Regions from separate parts of the Homo sapiens genome. Here region 1 is linked to region 2. The links are contacts of gene promoters, found by promoter capture Hi-C in human tissues and cell types (Jung and others, 2019). All regions are on one chromosome and are shown on one strand. Each heading gives the region's core, a stretch centred on a gene start or on the middle of the fragment in contact. The rest is flanking DNA. Distances are from core to core; before and after follow the strand shown. Region 1 overlaps LOC112268416 (a long non-coding RNA gene). Region 2 holds the start of EFEMP1 (EGF containing fibulin extracellular matrix protein 1).

Evidence for each region. The method cuts DNA at HindIII sites, captures the fragments that hold promoters and counts their contacts. A contact is called where the count stands out against the background at its distance.
Region 1: a contact is called between a fragment that was not itself captured here and the fragment with the promoter of EFEMP1 in region 2, in 3 of the 25 tissues and cell types used here (adrenal gland, aorta and mesenchymal stem cells).

What each region holds. Positions count from the first base shown.
Region 1 is chr2:55,859,247-55,862,785 of GRCh38, forward strand. All of the region lies in intron 2 of LOC112268416 (a long non-coding RNA gene), which reads left to right. Among named protein-coding and RNA genes, the nearest start is that of EFEMP1, 63 kb to the right of the region's middle. The HindIII fragment of the contact is 4,085 bases long and covers 1-3,539 here.
Region 2 is chr2:55,922,517-55,926,168 of GRCh38, forward strand. EFEMP1 (EGF containing fibulin extracellular matrix protein 1) reads right to left here and starts at 1,266. Exons shown (of 12, transcript NM_001039348.3): 1 at 1,195-1,266; 2 at 383-423. RefSeq lists an enhancer at 826-1,325. The HindIII fragment of the contact is 10,259 bases long and covers 1-3,652 here.

The sequences.
Region 1 (3,539 bases), core at 416-2,915, 63 kb before region 2:
AGAGGGTGGTGGGAATATTTCTAGAGGCTATTCCTACCCCAGACAGGAGCTCAAATTAACCATACATAGAAATGAATGTTAACTATATAAATATATCCTACTAAATCCAAACTAAATACACTCTCCTAACTCCACTTTCCCAGGCTGGATCTCAAACATACTTTTGACGCACTTCAGAGCCACGTGACATGTGAAGTGTGATGAGGGGAGCCCAAGATGAAAGAGTAATTCTAACCAATACAGCTAAAATGTATTATACAAATTTTACAAAAATATATAACTATGTGAACATAGGGTCCCTTTCAGGACCTTGGAAGGGGCTGGTGCAAGGGAGGAGCCTTGAAGCTTTAGCTTCATTAGCTTCCCTGAACATTCACTTTTGAAGGGCTACTCATTCTATTTAGTACTCTGCAATTGGACTTGTGATGAGCTCTAGAATCAGATAGGCTCGTGGTATTAACTATACAGTACCACTTTGCATAGTATTATATGTGTCCTTGAATCTAATTCAGTGTCATTGGCTGAACCATGTCCATTAGCCTTGGACATGGTTAGTGCCTGAGCAGAAGAAGAGAATGAGAGAGGAAAAGGAAGAAAAGATGGGAGAATGACCAGAAAAAGGTCAAGGAAGAGATTTATGTGGTATGAAGCCATCAAGCCAGTAAGTAACAGAAGCTCCATTTGTCAGAATCATCTAGCATTGCACTGGCGTCAGTCAGCAAATGTTGATGTCTGCCGCAGATCTCCTTAGCCATATGAGTTTACTGCATGGTGCAGTAGCAGTTTCTAGTTTGCCAACAGCATCCTCTATCAAACCCCTATCTTTCTTACCCTCTGCCTGAGGGCTTTCTCCAGTATGAGGAAGCACACCCTCCTGCAGGCAGTGTGTATGGGCAACACTTACCACAGGGACGGGAGTTGGTAGATAAATGCTGCAGCCCATGTGGCCTCTAGTGGAATGTTTCTCAGGTGAGTTCCATATGATTTATCAGAGGACTTGAGCTACAGTTGCTCACAGAGGTGATCCACTCATTTACTCACGAATTCATTGGCATCTCTTTCTGGCTCACTTTCCCCACTCACTCAAGTTTGCTTCCCAAGAGAACCTCTCAACCTACCAGAACTCAGTTTTTATGTCCGAATCTGCATCTGGGGCAACACAAACCAAGACACCTTGTTTAAGCCATTTGCAAGTAATTTACCACTTAAATAAACATAATGTAAATATTAAAATACAAAAACATAAAATGGGGTTTTTAAAGGAAATAAACAATTTGGAGATACTCAACTCAACAAAATCATTTGTGTTATATGCATCTGTTTAAATATCATGCTGAGATTTTGCAGAAACTACTTTAGTTTCTATGGGAAGATAAAAAAGAACCGAATTATTGCATTCAGGTCTTTAAAATTCTCTTGCATTTATATTCCAACTCTGGCTTATTAAAGGGGTCTGTGCTCCGTTAACATACACATGCGCTTACTATATAAACAGCTTAACTAGACATCTGCATTGACTGCATATAAGAGGCAGTTAACTTTTTGCCTTGTTTCTGTTCAACGATCTTGATATTTTAGTCTGCTGGCCAGATGAAACAAGATTGGTTTTTGGGTACCAGATGTGTCACAATTTGGGTTTGAATTTTGCAGGTGCTCCCCCCAGCTGGGAAGATGGAAGTTTGCCATCTTTTAGAGATGATGATTTGGGATAGAAGTAAAACTGTGTTAAAAATAATTCAACATATTAATAGAGGGCCTTGTCCCTTGTGGGCTTCTTATGCATAACATATGAGCAGACCAGCAGCTGTTCTATATTTTAAAAGGAGCGTTAGAAAGTTAGAAGCATACATAACTATTCAAAACACAAGCAACCGCTTGAAGTCATGGAAACAAGACTCAACAATAAACTTTTATTTGTGAAGCTTCCCCAAAAATAATAATCCCACTGGGCTGTGTTCAGGTGGCCTTAGGGTACTGAACAATCTTTCCATTTCCATCATTTGAATTCACTAAAGCATCTCCCTTGTAAATGAAGAGTGGTAGAAATTAGTACATGTACTAGATATGGGGATTGGTTTCTAGCTGATTTCTACTCTTCAATACTTATATTTTTAAATTATAATTTAAAAAATACCTATGTATTTTTGCCATTTTCACATGTGCAAGAACCTAAAGCCCCATTGAGGACTGAGTTCTTAATAGTGTCATATCTTGTCTTACTCTCAGCCTCTAAAACAGAAGCTGTTAGGTGATGATGTTCCTTGTACATATTTGCACCTTCGAAATTCACCTAATGAATGTTAACCAGTGTCAAGGAACGGCAATGTTCTTTACCCTTGGCTTTATAATAATCCTTACAGCAGGAAGGACGCTGTATGCTTTTTTGTCCAGCTCCTGGACCAGGGGAGTGTTAGACTCATTCTATCTTCACCACTGTGTTAGGTCGCCCTTGCATTGCTATAAATAAATACCTGAACTGGGTAATTTATAAAGAAAAGAGGATTAATTGGTTCACGATTCTGCAGGCTATACGGGTAATGTGATACCACCGTCTGCTTCTGGTGAAGACCTCCGGAAGCTTACAATCATGGTGGAAAGCGAAGCAGGGAAGTAGGTATATCACATGGCCAGAACAGGAGCAAGGGAAATGAGGAGGAGCCAGACTTCTTTAAATAACCAGCTCTCATGTGAATGTGTTCCTGCAGGGAGGGCACCAAGCCAGTCATGAGGGACCCACCCCATGACCCAAACACTTTCCACCAGGCCCCACCTCCAACATTGGAGGTCACATTGCAACATGAGATTTGGAGGGGAGAAACATCCAAACCGTATCAATCACTATTGCTCTCAAAGCTCCCCATTATTGGTAGAGATCCATCTGGATCTCTACTAATGGCCTCTTTTCTTCTGGAAACTGCTGTCCTCTCAAGTATAGTGAGGTCTACATGACTGGTGTTTGCATTTCAGTTTCCAGAATTCAGGAGTATTTTGGGTAACACAATTACTTCTGCCTGTCTGGAGTTAAAGAGAACAATAAACTACAGTTCAAGAAGGTTATAAGAATCAGGTTGGTGGTATCTATGTTATTTCAATCCGATTGCATGTGAAAGCAGCGATGAAAAAGTCATGCAGCCAGAAAGGCTGGCCCATGATGTGGAATGGACACTGTTCAAGAAGGGGTTTAAAAGGAAAGAGATTGCTTGTTGGTGTTGAAATTTGGAGTATGGCCAATGAAAAGAGCCCTAATCTAAGTCATAAGAACTGCATTCTAGGCATAGCACTCTTGCTCAACAAACTGCGATGTTGTGCAAGTCTTAAAAATAAGAGATTTTTTACAGGATGGTATCTAAGTTCTAGAATCCTATTATTATTAAAAATAAGGGTATGAAATAGGAGATATTTTATATTTGGAGGAGATGGAGATTGCCAGTTGTTAAAGAAACTACTTAAGAGGGAAATTTGGCAGCTGAAGTTAAATTATTCTCTTTTAGAGAGCTTAACAACCAAGAGGTCTTTCCTAACCACTGTAAAAAAATAAC
Region 2 (3,652 bases), core at 16-2,515:
GAGCACAAGCGAGGAAAGGAGGGTGGGAGAGGCTGAGGCTCCACCATACTCAACTTCCAATCTGCTTTCTCATCTCCCCTCCCCCTCCTGAACCTTCTCGGTAGCCAACGAACGAGGCAGCAAAGACGTAAAAACTGCTGTAGAATTGCATTTCACGTTACTCCATCCTGCTACGCTGTTTACATACAAAAGACATTCAGCGTGCATTTTATACTGCACCTACAAAGCAGGCTGCAGAAAGAGGGGGTCGAAAGGAAAAAACAGTAATCCATTTCAAAGGGGACGGTGCATTTCCTGCCCCCCAGTCCCACACCCCGGGGGATGGAGGTGGGGCTGCAAAACTCTGTTCTCTAGAACGTTAAGGCTTTCCCAGTATACTCACCTTGAGCTAGCAGAGTTCCTTGCACAGCACAGCAAAAATACCTGTGAGCCAATATGAATTGCCTTGGCCTCAAGCTTTTTATTTTTTAAACAAAATAACAAAACAAAACTCGGAGAGCAATCTTCCAGTTCTAGTAGAATACTAGACCTTCTCACATGTCTCAGAGCTTCTCACATCCCCCAGCACAAACTCTCAAAGTGGCATTTCCACGCCTTTCTCTGCGCACAGCTTTGTTTAAAAGTCCCAGGTTGTGTGGAGGGGCAGCCCAAAGCGACTGATTCTCTTTTGTCTTATCAGTCTGGGTCCCCGACACGCTACCTTCGGTTTCAGGCTGCCTAGGACCGGAACCAGGGATCGCACCGCAGCCCAAGGTACCAGTTTCGGGCGGGCGGCCTGGCCCGGCAGGGAGATGAGGTCCCCTTTCTTAACAGCAAGCTAACGCGGCGGTCCCCTGGAGCTGCTCAGCGTCCCAGCTTCTAACCAGCTCCTATGGAATCCAGGTGCGGCTTAAATCTCGCACACTGGTCCCCTAAACTTTCAAAACCACGTTTATGGGCAAAGCCCTGCCGGCTGGTTGTCGGCGCGCACACACATGCCCATCCCAACAGATGTCACCCGAGTACTCGCACTTGCTGACAGATCGCATTCCGAGGCTGCACACCTCCACCTCCCTCTCTGCCCGAGACACCCTGCACAGTCCAGGGCAGTTCTCGGGTACTCAACACCCCTCAGCTCACCCCACCTCACTCTCCCGCGCGCGGCCCAGTGAGTACTGGGCTCGCTCGGGGCGACCCCCCGTTGGGGGCTCCTACCTGTGCGGCCGCGCTGCGCTCCGGGCCCGGGCAGCGAGGGGAGTGCGCAGGGGAGGGCAGCCCCGTGGGTCTGATCTGGCGAAGTCCGGCAGCGGCCGCGGCGGCAGGAGGAGGAGGAGAAAGGGAGGGAAAGGGGGAGGGCGAAGGGGGGCGGAGGAGAGAGCTGAGGGAGGCGCGAGCGCTGAGCCCAGCGTTGCGAGCCCGGCGGTAGAGCGCGCAGCGCAGCGAGGTCCGCGCCCCCTGCTCCAGGGGCCCTCTTTGCCGCCCCCGCTTGCCCTCCCTTGCCAGCTCCTCGTTTCCCAGACTCGCGGGGACCCCACGCCAGAGAGGACACGTTGACATGTGATGTCCTGGATGCGCTTCAGCCTTGGGGATGCTCCCACTCTCTAGTGCGTTTTCTTCTTCTCTGAGGAGGGGAACACAGCATCTCCCTCAGAGACCAGAGGGTTCTAGAAACTGCTGTTACTTTTTTTCCCAATAAGTGAATGCTAGGAGAGTAAATTAACCCCCATTCATAGAACTGTTTCCTTTACCTTTTCTTTCGGATTTTTTTTTTTTTTTGAGGAGGTGTCTGCTTCCACAAATGGAGAAAAATGAGAATTCATCCATTCAACAAATATTTGCCACCTACTGTGTGCTTAGTGTTGGGAATAGGCCAAATAGAACTTGCACTAACAAAATTGTGAGGTGGGGTTTGTTTTATGGTCTCTCAAACCTCCCTTTATGATAACAAGTGTTGGCAAGAATGGAGAAAAGGGAATGCTTGTATGCTGTTGGTGGAATGTAAATTAGTACAAACATGATGGAAAATTGTATGGAGGTTTCTCAAAAAACTGAAAGTAGAATTATCATATGATCCAGCAATCTCATTTCTGGGTATTTACTGGGAAGATTTGAAATCAGTGTGTTGAAGAGACGTCTGTACTTTCATGTTTATTGCAGCACTATTCACAATTGCCAAGATATGGAATCAACCTAAGTGTCCATCAAGGGATAAATGGATAAAGAAAATGTGGCATATATGTGTGTGTGTATACAAATATAATATATATTATATATATAAACACATATATATATAAAATATGTACACACATATATTTTAGATATATATGCGTTTTTAAGGCTAAATAGTATTCCATTGTGTGTGTGTGTGTGCGCGCGTGCATGTGTATATGAGCCCATTCTTCTGAAAAGTATCTTTCAAGCCAGGCAAAAATGGCAGTTCACTTGAATAATTTGTATGGTAAATAGAGAAGACTTACAGTTTGTTTTAGATATTTACTCCTAGACATTTAATGTTAGTGTACTATCAAGTAAGCCTAGACTGAGTTTAGCTTCACCACTTGGCTATGTAGCCCTAAGCAAGTTAGACACTCTCTTTGATCTTCAGTTCTACCATTAATAGAAGGAAGATGATGCCACTTACCTTACACATTGCTGCAAGGATCAAAGGAGATCGTGTCTCCACAGCGGGATACTCAAAAATAGTTATTATCTTGTCCTTTAACCATGAATTATTAGGCATACAAAATTTAAAAGAGAATAGTATTCCATTTTATGTGTCTGTGTGTATGTGTGGAATACTATTTAGCCTTAAAAAAGAAATTCTGTCATTTGTGACACCATGGATGGAAGTGGAAAACATTATGCACAGTGAAATAAGCCAAATGTAGAAACACAAATACCACATGTTCTCAAGTATCTGAAAGTAACTTAAAACAATTGAACTCATAGAAGCAGAGAGTAGAATGGTGGTTACCAGAGGCTAGGGTTGCAGGGAATGGAGAGATAACAGTCAAAGAGTGTAAGCCTCAATTAGATAGGATGAATAAGGGTTGGGTGCAGTGGCTCATGCCTGTAATCCCAGCACTTTGGGCAGCCAAGGTGGGCAGATCACCTGAGGTCAGGAGTTCAAGACCAGCCTGGCCAACATGGAGAAACCCCATCTCTACTAAAAATACAAAAATTAGACACGTGCCTGTAATCCCAGCTACTCGGGAGGCTGAGGCAGGATGATCGCTTGAACCCCGGAAGGCAGAGGTTGCAGTGAGCTGAGATCATCCCTCTGAGTGACAGAGTGAGACTCCATCTAAAAAAAAAAGAGAGGAAAAGTTTGATTTTTTTAAAGTTCAATTGCACGGTGTCGTGAATAAAGCTGATAATTGAGTACTGTATATTTCATTATCACTAAGAGAGTAAATTTCAAATGTTCTCATCACAAAAAATGTCAAATATTTGAGGTGATGGATATATTAATTAGCTTGGTTTAATTATTACACATTGTATTAAAAAATCATAACACCTTGTACCCTATTAATATATACAACTATAATTTGTCAATATATAATAAAAAGTCTCCCTTTTTATGGGTTTCTTTTTTCATCTATAGCTTCTCTTTTCTTCACTTATTGACTTAGTGAAATCTCCAATACTGCTCATTCAAAGTTGGGCATTTCAC